Linked DNA regions of Homo sapiens: region 2 is linked to region 1. Evidence: promoter capture Hi-C in 16 types of primary human blood cells and fetal thymus (Javierre and others, 2016). All regions are on one chromosome and are shown on one strand. The core of a region is centred on a gene start or on the middle of the fragment in contact, and the rest is flanking DNA. Distances in the headings are between cores, read along the strand shown.

Evidence for each region. The method cuts DNA at HindIII sites, captures the fragments that hold promoters and counts their contacts. A CHiCAGO score of 5 or more calls a contact.
Region 2: a contact is called between a fragment that was not itself captured here and the fragment with the promoter of NKX2-4 in region 1, in 3 of 17 cell types (activated CD4 T cells, megakaryocytes and total CD8 T cells). The highest score is 6.3, in activated CD4 T cells.

What each region holds. Positions count from the first base shown.
Region 1 is chr20:21,393,606-21,400,092 of GRCh38, forward strand. It overlaps NKX2-4 (NK2 homeobox 4), which reads right to left and starts at 3,921. Exons shown (of 2, transcript NM_033176.2): 1 at 3,353-3,921; 2 at 1,760-2,928. The coding sequence starts at 3,794. The coding sequence ends at 2,306. It overlaps LOC105372558 (a long non-coding RNA gene), which reads left to right and starts at 4,329. Exons shown (of 4, transcript XR_001754528.1): 1 at 4,329-4,971; 2 at 5,658-5,761. The HindIII fragment of the contact is 6,496 bases long and covers 61-6,487 here.
Region 2 is chr20:21,247,208-21,253,694 of GRCh38, forward strand. No RefSeq gene overlaps it. Among named protein-coding and RNA genes, the nearest start is that of KIZ-AS1, 32 kb to the left of the region's middle. The HindIII fragment of the contact is 168 bases long and covers 2,834-3,001 here.

The sequences.
Region 1 (6,487 bases), core at 2,671-5,170:
AACAGCTCGTTTTGCATTAATCAGAAGGTGGGATTCTATGGTAAAAACATTTCTATTTTAAGCTTCAAGAATCAAACCTTTCCCTAATTTCAGGATATGCACACATACAGTCAGTCAGTCTCTGGGTATAGAATGTTAAGCCCTTTGCAGCAATTATTTCTGGCTTGGGGTTTTTTACTCTTTAAAGGAATGCTGAAAGGAATAAGATATGCCCACACAAAATACACTTCCAGAAAATATTGTATATAAAAGTTGTTTCTTCTTAATGTGACATATTTCTTAAAGAAAGTGCACTTCTTCAGTCTAAAGGATTTTGTTCCAGAAATAAACTGTTCATGAAGACTCATTTTCTTTAAATATGTTACCCGGAGCCCTTGGACTATAAGCTATTATTGTTTTTGTAGGTATTGGACTGTAACAAAAAACACTGCCAACCATGTGGGCTTTTAGAACGTTTTCTAGAAGTAAAATTTCAGAATTATGGTACTATTGTGAGGAAATCAAACTAATATAAACAAACATTTTGAAATTTGGCACATCAATAATAGATTTGCTAGCTTAGTTAACATTTCTAAAGTCATTTCCATTAATATGCCAAAAACACCCCAAGTTGAGAGAATTTCCTGTGGGTGTACTGTAGCGTTTTCTTACAAATTTGTCTGCTCAGATTATTTGTTCTTACATAAAATGTTTTAAAAATTAGATCTCATTTTCTAAAAATTCTTTTACGGCCCCTTGATAAAGGGTGATTCCCTTGCTTCTTTAGTGTTTTTTCTCCCTCTGTGAAAGAAACTGGAGTTTTAAAAAATTACTATACAAGAGTCTAGAAAAAGTGCAAGTTTAACTTCTAAAACACCTTCTTATGAATTCAAGTTGCACATTCAGAAAAATGTTCTAACAATGAAGTGAAACACAATGTTTCAGCCCCAAGCTGTAATTCTAAAATCTCAAATGTAGAAGAGGTTTAGGGTCTCCGGTAACTATTTGTTTTGATCATTTGCAAATCATGCTTTATCCATGTTATTTCTTTAATTTTCATTAATTATTTATAAGCACAAATTCGTCAGCTTTTAGTATTTTTAGTCCACTACCAGTCATTTATGAGTAAACTGAGCTGTGTTGTCACATCATGACAATTAGTATTTTAAAAACACATCAAGCCATGTATAAACTTAATGAAAAAGAAATGACCACTTGACTTTTAGAAAAAAGAACTTGTTTCTTTTAAGTTATATTTAAATATCCATTAGAAACATAGGAAATATAAATCGGCATATTAAAGAGTAAATACATTATTTGTACAATAAAACACCAACAAAACCAGTGCAACTCCTAAGTTCTAAATATGGTGGAAAAATTATATTGTAGTTACTTATTCCTTATATCTTGATTACAATTCAATAAATCACCTTTCTTCTTCTTGTCATGCTTTGAATATAGATTAATTGATGTCAATTTTAGAAATTTTACTTGTTTGTTCTAGTACTTTATCAAGGTATTCAAATTCAGACAAGAAAATACCTCAAAGAGAGTAAATACCATGTTTACAGAAGGATAGGGTTATTTATTTTCTCAGTTGATGTTGGGAGACCAGATTTCATATACAAATAGTATACAACCTTTCTTATGGTGAGCTGCATCTTAGGGGGGAAAATCCTCTTTTAGCGTAACATACAAACACTCACTTGCCAAATAATCATCAAAACATTTTGAAATCAGCATTAAATTTAAAAAGCTCCATCAATCCATATAATCAGTATTTTATTTTGATTCCATTGCTCTATTACCTAAATGGCAATAATTCCTCTGCAATAATGTTGCTATGTGTATGATCCACCTTGAGCTACACTTCAATTTACTTTCAATCAAACATTAATGAAATTGCACTTAGGGGGCCCTTCGAAAATTAATCTCCCAAGATAAATTCCACTTCAAAAAGGACTGATTGTTAAAGCTGGGTTGATTTTTATAGTTACAAACGCCAACAAAGTTTCCAACTTTGAGAGCTGTAGTTAAGAATGCCGTGTGAACTTCTCCACCTTTTCGCGTCATTTAAGAACTTCTAGGAGGAGAAAATCACCACCTCAAAGCCTCGTGGCATAATGTTACACTACTCGGTTTCCGGGCTGTCGCTGTCCCCCGCCCCCAGCAAGAGGTTCACAGCCTGCTCCTCTCTGAGACCGGTTCGTTTTGAATCGCAGTTTACACGCGCGAGTCGGTTTTCGCATGCCTCCCCCATCCGTTCTAGCAGTTTCTTGCAGACCCTTCGGGTGCACCAGGACCTAGCCCCGGGGCGCCCTCGCTGTCACCACGTCCTGCCATAGAGCAGGTTGGCGCCCAGGACGCCGCCGCTGTACTCCCCGGCGGCCGCGTCCAGGGCCGCCAGGCCGCCCCCCGGGCCGTGCAGCGCGGGTGGGCTGGGCGACAGCTCCTCCAGCTCAGGTGCTGGCGTCGGGGCCGGCGGCTGCGGACCGGCCTGGCCGGGGGTGGGCGTGCTGGCGCCGTTCTGGCACGGCTTGCCGTCCTTGACCAGCACAGGCACCGCCACGCGGCGCGGGGACGGCGGCGGAGGCGGCGGCGGGCCCAGGCCGCCCTCCTGCTGCAGCTGCTGCGCCGCCTTGTCCTTGGCCTGCCGTTTCATCTTGTACCGGTGGTTCTGGAACCAGATCTTGACCTGCGTGGGCGTCAGGTGGATCATGCTGGCCAGGTGCTCGCGCTCGGGCGCCGACAGGTACTTCTGCTGCTTGAAGCGCCGCTCCAGCTCGTAGACCTGCGCCTGCGAGAAGAGCACGCGGCGCTTCCTTCGCGGAGCGGCTGCCGCCGCCGCCGCGTGCAGCGGGCCCAGCGACTTGGCGGCGTCCGCGATGCCGGTCAGCGACCCCATGCCGGCCACATTCACGCCCGCCGACGGCCCCATGAACCTGGAGACTGGGGAAGAGTCCCAAGGGGGAAGGCGAGTGAGCTCCAGGCCCGCCGGGAGCCGGTCCAGCCGCCGCTCTCTTCACGCCGCGGCCGCGACGCCGCCGGGCCCTCGCTGAATCCCAAGACCCCCTGACCGCCGCGGCCTCCGGCCCCAGCACGCCCCGCGCGCCCTCGGCGGGTCCCAGAGCACCACGCCCTCAACGGGTCCCAGGACGCCGCGCGCGTTCCCGGTCAGGTCCCAGGACCCCCCGCGCGCCCAGGGTCCCCAGAAACCCCGCGCGTCCCGGGCCGCGTCCCAGGACGCCCCGCGCGCCCGCTCGGCCCCAGGACCTCCTAAGCCGCGCGCACCCCGTCCCGCGCCCCCGCGCCCCTCGGCTGTGGCGGGAAACGCCTGAGCCGCCCGCAGCCCCGCGCTCCTGGCCCCTCTCACTTGACGAGTAGCGTGGGTCCGGGTTGGCGCCGTACCAGCCGGTGGCCGCGCCGCCCCGCATGCCGTCCGTGTAGGCGGGCAGCTCGCCCATGTTGCCCAGGCCGCCGTTGCAGTAGCTGCCCATGGCGCCGTGCGGGAACTGCGAGACGCCGGGCGGCATGTGGTAGGTGGCGGCCGCCGCCGCCGCAGCTGCTGCCGCCGCCGCCGCGGCCGCCGCGTTGTGACCCGCCATGGCGTGAGAAGGCTGCATGCCCGCCACGGTCGCCGCCTGCGAGGAGGGCCCAGGTGGCGGCGCGCGGTAGGCGGCCGCGGCCCCCAGGGGCGCCCCCAGGCCGGGTGGCGCGCCGTCCATGGCGCCGCTGAACTTCTTGTAGGTCTCCTCGATGGGGCTCAGGATGTCGGACACGGAGAAGGGCGTCGTGTGCTTTGGGCTCAACGACATGGCTCGGCGGGCAGCCAGGTAGGGGGGCCTGGGGCGCGCGCCGGCAGGACGCGGCGGCCGCTCGTCGCCGCCACCTCGGCCGCGGCAGCTGAGCCTGTGACGAGGAGTCGGCGGCTCGGCGAGCCCCCCGGGCTGCGGGATCTGGGGTTTATTTTAGTCCGGCGCCAGGTTTACGACAGACTCGGGGGGCGGAGCAACATCCCAAACGAGCAAACAATGGTCATTGACATCTTTTTCTCTCGCCCCCCCAACCCCCGCCCCATAATGGAGGCAAAAAAAGGTAAAAGGGGCAGTTGGGTGTTTCTTGGAAAGATCACTCCCCGTTGCTTTTCCCATCTTTGCTTTTCCCATCCTTTGCTTTTCCCATCCTTCGCTCCTCCATCCGCGGCCGTTACCCCAGCCCTCGAGCACCAGAAATAGAAACTCGGAGGCTGGCGTCGAGGCTAGACATGGACTCCGCGCCTGGCCCCTTCCAGATCCCAGTTTTCTAAAGTGACTTCGCACCAAAGTCCGGTATAATTGCGGAATGGGGAACGTGCTGCTAAGTTTGGGGGGAGGGTGTTGCGGGGGCTTGCTTCGTCCTCTCCAGTTATCAGCCCCTCATTCGCTCCATCACCTAAAGTGTTAAAAAAAAAAAAAAAGGCTCTTGGGTCCCACCGTAAGAGCGCATAAAGAGAGGAGGTACAATGACCGTCCTTTGCCATTGTAGGGCTCCCTAATTTATGCGTTTTTAGACCCTTAAGCATCATTTTGTGGGCAACCAAACGGGCACTTCCAAATTAGCTCAAAGTATCCAAGCCCAGAGAAGAGAGAAAACACACATACACTGATAAATACGCAGATGCTAACTTGTAAGTATTCTGTTTTTCCTCTGTGGGGATGGAAATTGAACAAGGGAAAGAGGGGGAACATTTTTATTTCCTAAAATGTTTCCTACTGAGTTTGCACTTGTAAAGTTTTTTCTGCTTTCTTTCCCTTTGTGTGTGTTCTTACTCTCTTTCTCTCAGTAAATATCTCTGACTTAAGTTTATTCTCCCATCACTACCGTGATCAAAAAGAAGAGAAAGACAAAATATCAAAACTTCCAAATATTTCTAGTTGTTCGCAACGGGTCTTTTTGTTGTTGTTGGAAAAATATAACCTGTTCAAGCGATATGAAAATGGATGCAGAAATCAGGTGAAAATTGTAGTTTCTTTGGAAAAATACAAAACCATAGATAAACAGATTTTTAAAACTTTGTCATCCTTTGACTTGCAGTTTTACCCGAATACTTAGACATTATGAACTCTCTACTAAATACTGAACAAGACAAAGCATAAGACAAAAGCAGTGTGCAAAGCATATTGATTAAATTTTGAAAACAATCTTGCAGCAATAATAATGATAACGAGAAAACAAAGATAACACTTTTAAGTTTTCCTGGAAACTGGAGCAGGAGAAAGAAAAACAAGGAGAGTGCTTTCTTAAGCAATATTTTGTTTTATTTTTTTTCCAGAAAAGGGTGTGTGGAATCGATTTAAGTTTAACCTGACAGTACATGTCTTGAAGGCAAGAACAGTGTTACATATTCCTTTTTCTGTTTGGTTTTAGCCCTTTGGTGGAAATGTTCTCCATGGTTTTGTTCTTAGGATTTTAATAATTGTTTTGTTCAACTCAGTATGGTTTTGCAAAGAATCTGCCCTTTCTAGGGGGGAAAAAGCCATAGGTCACCTGTGGGAAGGAAGTGACAGACGAATGTTAAGAGTAATGTTTTAATATACTGTAAAAATAAAATGCAAGGTTACAGGAATTGTTTACAAACATCAGTATTGACTTAGCAAGATTAATATTGCTACAGTTTTAACACGATGCTACTTTTACAGGTCTTTTATGAACTTGAAACACATCGGCTAGGTCTTCATCCTCACCTGCACTGGAATTACCTACTTAAGAAAAACAAACTAATGATACACAAAGAAGCACTTATGTATGTATTTAAACACTTGCTGGGATCCTTCTGAAAACTACAGTTTGAATTTTACGTTTCCGGTTTAGTTTAAATTGTATTGTTTACTTGTATGTATTAGCTTAAATAAAATAATAGTCATTTCAAATGTTTCTCAGAGACAACAGGGTAAGTAAAAAATAGTTGTGTTATGACATCTGTGAATATAAAAGTTATTTGTGGCCCATTATATTTTATTTTTCAAGTTCAAACGTATTTCAAATATGAAACGCATTATCATAATCTCCATATTGATTAGTTGTCCAAGTTGAAAAGTGTTTACAATTTTAATTTTTTCCAGATGATTATTACTCTGTTTTCAGGCTATAAATTTCATCTCATGTAATTTTCTTTGTAGAACTTTGACATAGCAGTTAACATCAAGTGGTTGTACTACAATTTTTGCTTATTTTGTTTTTCAACTGCATTGGGTCCTGTTATAAGTGCATATACATCTGGAATGCTTCCATCTTTAAATTAAAAGCACTTTATCACATCTGAAGGTTCTCTGCAGAGAGTCACTTTCTGACTGCTTAGGAACTTGATAAGCCAAATAGTATTCCATCACTGTAGGTAAACAGTTCTGGGAAAGAAAAATCTACAGTCTTTGACAATTCTTCCTGTCAATTGTTTGTACCTCATTCTAGAAATTACATATCTTCATGCCGGAAACACTATTTGGATGCGTGTGGATGATTCTGAAAATTG
Region 2 (6,487 bases), core at 1,668-4,167, 150 kb before region 1:
AACTTACTGAAAAGCTACAGTAATTGAGATACTGTGGTACTAGATAAACAGAAATCAATGGAATATTGACTCTGTTGATTCATATGTATCTAGAATTGAGAATACAAAAACACTGTCACATTTAGTCAATTAATTTTTGACAAGGGTAACAATTTCTGCTACTCAATGGGATAAAGAATAGCCATTTCAACAAATGATGCTGGGACAAATGGATAGCCACATGGCCAAAGAATGATCTTGGATCCCTACCTCACACTGTATACAAAAATTAACCAAAATGGATCAAGAACCTAAATGTAAGAGCTAAAACTACAAAACTGTGTTAGAAGTAAACATAGGTGGCCAGGCATGGTGGCTCATGCCTGTAATCCCAGCACTTTGGGAGGCTGAGGCAGGCAGATTGCCTGAGGTCAGGAGTTTGAGACCAGCCTGGCCAACGTGGTGAAATGCTGTCTCTACTAAAAATACAAAAATTAGCCAGGCATGGTGGCAGGCACCTGTAATTCCAGCTACTTGAGAGGCTGAGGCAGGAGAATTGGTTGAACCTGGGAGACGGAGGTTGTAGTGAGCCAAGATTGCACCATTGCACTCCAACCTGGGCGAACCCAGGAGACGGAGGTTGTGGTGAGTCAAGATTGCACCATTGCACTCCAACCTGGGCGACAAGAACGAGACTTGGTCTCAAAAAAAAGTAAACATAGGTGTAAGTTTCTCTCACCTTGGATTAGGCAACAGTTTCTTAGATATGACCGCAAAGCCTTAGATGTGGTTGCAAAAGATACCACCAGGAAAGTTAAGGCCAGGTGCAGTGGCTCATGCCTGTAATCCCAGCACTTTGGGTGGTCAAGGTGGGTGGATCATTTGAGATCAGGAGTTCGAGACCAGCTTGGCCAACATGGTGAAACCCCATCTGTACTAAAAATATATAAAGCCAGGCGTGGTGGCACGCACCTGTAGTCCCAGCAACTCAGGAGTCTGAGGCAGGAGAATCACTTGAACCCAGGAGGCGGAGGTTGCAGTGAGCCAAGAGAGCACCACTGCACTCCAGCCTGGGTGACAGAGTGAGACTCCCATTTCAAAAAAAAAAAAAAAGAGTGAAAAGACAATCTATAGAATGAGGAAAGTATTTGCAAATTATACATCTAAAAATGGACTTGTATCCAGAAATACATAAATAACTCTTATGACTCAATAATTTAAAAAACCCCGATTTTGAAAATGGGCAAAGGATCTGAATAGATATTTCTCCAAAGAAGATATACAAATGGCCAATAAGATGCATGGCATCATTGGTCTTCAAGGAAATGCAAATCAAAACCACAGTGAGGTACCCCTTCATGCCCTCTAGCATGACTGGAATCAAAAAGTCAGGTAACAGAAGTAGTGAGGAGGTGGAGAAATCGCTGGCAGGGATGTGAAATGGTGCAGCAGCTTTGATAAACACTCTAGTAGTTCCTGAAAAGGTTAAACATAGAGGGATTATGACCTAATGATTCTACTCCAAGAGAAACAAAAACATATCCACACAAAAACTTGTACAGGAATATTTATAGAAGAATTATTCATAAGAGCCAAAGAGTAGAAACAACCCAAATGTCCATCACTTATAAATGGATAAACAGAATATCCATACAGTAGAATATCATTCCTCAATAAAAAGGCATGGAGTACTAATCCATGCTACAACATGGGTGAACCTTGAAAACATTATTCTAAGTGAAAGAAGTCACTCACAAAAGACCACATAATGTCAGATTCATTTCTGTGCAGTGTCTAGGACAGGAAAATCCATAGACAAATGAGTAGTTGTCTAGGCCTGGGGTCGGGAGAGGAGTGACTACTGATATGAGGGATTTTGGCAGGGATAATGAAAATGTCCTAAAATTCATTGTGCTGATGATTGTATAATTCTGTGGATACACTGAAAACCATTGAAGTGTACACTTTAAATAGGTGAATTATATGCTCTGTAAATTACATGTCAATACTGTTTAGAAAAAGGAAATTGGTAATTCATACATCTTGGGGTGTAGTGACTACAGGCAACTCTTGGTGCAACACTTTCTCACTTTTAAATGGTCACTTTAGTCAATGTCAGAAGTTAATTGTGCAACTCAGGAGCCTGGGACTCATGGTGGGTCATGTGACTACTCTGGCTTCCTTTGAGCCCTCAGAATCTCTGAAATTGAAATGATTTTTAAAGCATTGTGTGTATTTTGTTTTTAAATCACCTCCTGCTTGTCACTTACCTACTCAAGAACTTGGGAGATGTCTTTGATTCACTCCTTTATTCTCCCTTCTTTCCACTCAAATTACCAAGGCCTTTCCTATCTCTTCCCTGCCATCATCACCATCCCCATCTGAGCCTTCACACCTGAGTTTCTGCAGCAGGTGTCTTGATATTGCCCTTGGCAACTAAGAAAAATCCTGCCATGGGTTTCCTTTTTCTTTCTTCTTAAAAAGGTATAACTTGGGTATTATTAATTTGCTAATAATAAAATAGCTGCTATTTATTGAGCACCCTATTATAACCCAGACACTTTGCTTGCTCAGCATAGAAACCAACTCAAAGCTGATGTAGAGACTAGGAATCTGCATTTTTAGTGATTCCTGTGGGAATCACTGTTCTAGAAAGACAGCTATCTACTATGAGGAAATAAATCCAACTCTGAAATCCATGTTTTTATCCATTTGATGGGAGGCAAGGAATGTTGGCTGTTTGGTTTTTTGTTGTTGTTGTTTGTTTTGTTTTGTTTTTTGTTTTTCTTCATTATGTTGTTCTGGCTTAGTTGTTCTAATAAAATATTTCATTCTTTGGTTTTTAAAACTTTTAAGCTTTATACTACAGCGTTATTTTTCTATATTCTCTCTTCCCTATCCACAATTATTAAATAATGGGAGTTGACTCTAATGGTAATTCTCCACATAAATAAAGGGGGTACTTTATGGCTCAAAGCACACGATGGAAAGATTTAGAATCACGCTATTTTAGGACTGGAAAAGCTTTTAGAGATCACATGGTCTTTGAATTTTAGAGTCAAAAAGGACATTATTCATCAAAACTTCTCATTTTAGAAAACTTGGTCAAAAGTGATACATAAATATGGCAGCTAAGTGAAGAGCAATATAGATACTAACTTGTCAGTAGACACTAAGAAGACAAAGAGAAGCGTGCCTGGCAAGGATTGAAGTTAAATGGAAAAATGTGGCTTGCATTGGCCAATGCAATGTGAACACAAGTAACCAATGCCACTTTTGGTTAGAAGCTTTAGTGCTATGTGTGATTCTCTCCTCTTTCCTGCATCAGCAGCCATGGCAGCATGGGACAAGTGGAGCCTCCATCAGCCTGGCTGCATCAGTGACTAGGAAGAGCAGACCTCCCCTGCTAATCATGTTTGCACCACTGGAATTGGCAGGTTGTTACCACAGGAAAATTCTGGTCTATCCTGACCAATATACTATTCTTCCATTTACGTATACTCTTTTTTTTTTTTTTTTTTTTTTGAGACAGAGTCTCACTCAGTGGCCCAGGCTGGAGTGCAGTGGCAGGGTCTCAGCTCACTGCAACCTCCACCTCCCAAGTGATTCTCCCGCCTCAGCCTCCCGAGTAGCTGGGATCACAGGCATGCGCCACCATGCCTAATTTATATATTTTTAGTAGAGAGGGTTTCACCATGTTGGCCAAGCTATTCTCGAACTCCTGACCTCAAGTGATCTGCCCGCCTCTGCGTCCCAAAATGCTGGAATTACAGGCATGAGCCACCACGCCCAGCTATTTATGTATATTCTGATTAGGCCACGTGTAATTTAATTTTGGAGTGGTGAGACTTGCAAGGTTTCCTAAATGCTCACTGAATAAACATTACACCTTTGAGATTTTTTTAAAGAAAATTTGATTCTGAATAAAGAACATATTTTTTCCTTTTTCCAGTTAAGAACCTCAAGTATCTGTGGTTAGACTATTTCTAAATGAAGTGGTAACAATTACAGTTGCAGAAGGTGAGGAACAAGTTGCACACCTTGGGGCAGGGATTGGGGGACATTTTTAGAACTGAGCTGTGGTAGTCAATAAACGGGAGTCTGTTGACAGGAAAACCTCCAGAAACCACAGCCTGCGGGGAAGCCCTCTGTGGTTTCTGGAAAGCAGGCACAGCATCTGGAGCATTTCCCTGGGTATTTGTATGTATCTCCACTGGAAAGTAGCAAATGAACTGGGTTCCTCCAACCATCTGACCCAAGAGGTAGAACTGAATTCTCCCTCCTCCCCCCATTTCTAATGTGGGCTGGACTTAGTGACTCACTTCCACAGAATAGAGATGGAAAGGGGGAAATAGTAATGGTACAGTGGAGAAACCTGCCTGACACCACCTTACGTGATGAAGGTTAACACCCATGAGTCATGACTCGTGTGGATATCTGGAACCCTGACATGCTGCCGGGAGACGGGCACTTCTCCTCTATAGTGTTCTTTCTGAAAAATCTTAACCACAGCTTAATCATGAAAAATATCAGATAACCTTGGGACATTTGACAAAACACCCAGCCATTACTCCTCAAAACAGACAGTGTCATGAAAACCAAGGAAAGACTAAGAAACTTTCACAGACCAGAGGAGAAAGAGACATGACAACTAAAATGCATTGTGGGGCCCTGGTGGGATCCTCGAACCAAAAAAAGGACATTCACGGAAAATCTGGTGAAATGTGAGTAAAGTCTGGAGTTTAATATTAATGTACCATGTTGGTTTCTTAGTTTTGACAAATGTGCCACAGCAATGTAAGATGATAATATTAAGGGCAACTGAAACTGGGCTAGGGGTATATAAGAACTCTGCATTATCTTTGCAACAAATCTAAAATTATTCCACATAAACTAACCTCCATCAATAAATGTTATTGACACTTGGGTGATACCCTTTCACACTTTTTCTGTGCACATATGCTTTTTCATTCTCTTAAACGTTTCTATTTTTAATCTCAATGTTACCAGGCTTAAAAGATTGATACCCACTAAGAAAACAAAACAGGCCTTCAACCAGGGCACTAACTTGCTATTTGTCAGCAATGCTGATGGGGTATACAGAGTCCTACATCTTAACATCTTTTACCTACAGATCACATGCTGCACTGATGATAGTCCAGAAGAAAGCCTAGGTTTGCTGCTAGTCTTTAAAACTTTGCTAACCATTTTCTTACTTTGTAGCAATAGAGTAGGCCTAGGACCCCACACTAGTAGCAAGCAAAATTTTCCAGCTACAATTTAACCTTTCTTTTTTCTTTTTAGTTACTTTCTATTTATCTCAAATGGCTCTGGTTTAAAATGTACAGAAGTGGCCAGGCACAGTGGCTCGTGTGTGTAATTCCAGCTACGTAGGATGCTGAGGTGGAAGGATCACTGAGTCCAGGGAGGTCGAGGCTGCAGTGAGCCATGATCATGACACTGCACTCCAGCCTAAGCAACAGAATAAGGCCCTGACAAAATAAAAATAAATAAAATAAAATGGATAGCAGTGATATAAAGTTCCCTTTTAAAATACATTTTAGGGAAAAAGAAAGTTGACCTTCAAAAATAAGCTTAAAAAAAAATAGAACAAGTGCTAGGAGGGCACGGCCAAGTGGAAGGAGGGGAAAGTTGCTCTGTTACCCTCACTAAATACCTCTCTGATGTATTTTGGGGTTTCCAGAGGATCAGGCTTCATGGGGAGGTCACACATGGAGCCCATGGCTAGTCCTGTTTCCCAGGTGAAAGCACTATCACTATCACAGCATAAGTTAATAACCCGATCTTCCCATTTATAAATCAAACTTTTGTGAGTTTGATTAACATGTGGATCCTGTGAACTGGTGAAACCAAGCACCACAACTCACAGAGTTTAGGACTCAGCTCTAGATCTGGGGTAGCCACTCCCCACCAACTCCCTACTGAAGTTCAGATACAGCTTTATTATTTGGTCATTCTGCAGTCCTCCCCCACCCCCCACCGCCAATTAAAGGAGATTTTTGTTTTATTTTGTTTTGTTTTTTAATTATACTTTAGGTTCTGGGGTACATGTGCAGAACGTGCAGTTTTGTTACATAGATATACACGTGCCATGATGGTTTGCTGCACCCATCAACCTGTCATCTACATTAGGTATTTCTCCTAATGCTCTCCCTCCCCTAGTCCCCCACCCCCCAACAGGCCCCGTTGTGTGATGTTCCCCTCCCTGTGTCCATGTGTTCCCATTGTTCAACTGCCACTTTTGAATGAAAACATGAGGTGTTTGGTTTTCTGTTCCTGTGTTAGTTTGCTGAGAATGATGGTTTCCAGCCTCATCCATGTCCCTGCAAAGGACATGACTCATTTTTTTATGGCTGCATAGTATTCCGTGGTGTATATATGCCACATTTTCTTAATCCAGTCTATCATTGATGGACATTTGGGTTGGTTCCAAGTCTTTGCTATTGTGAATAATGCCGCAATAAACATACGTGTGCATGTGTCTTTA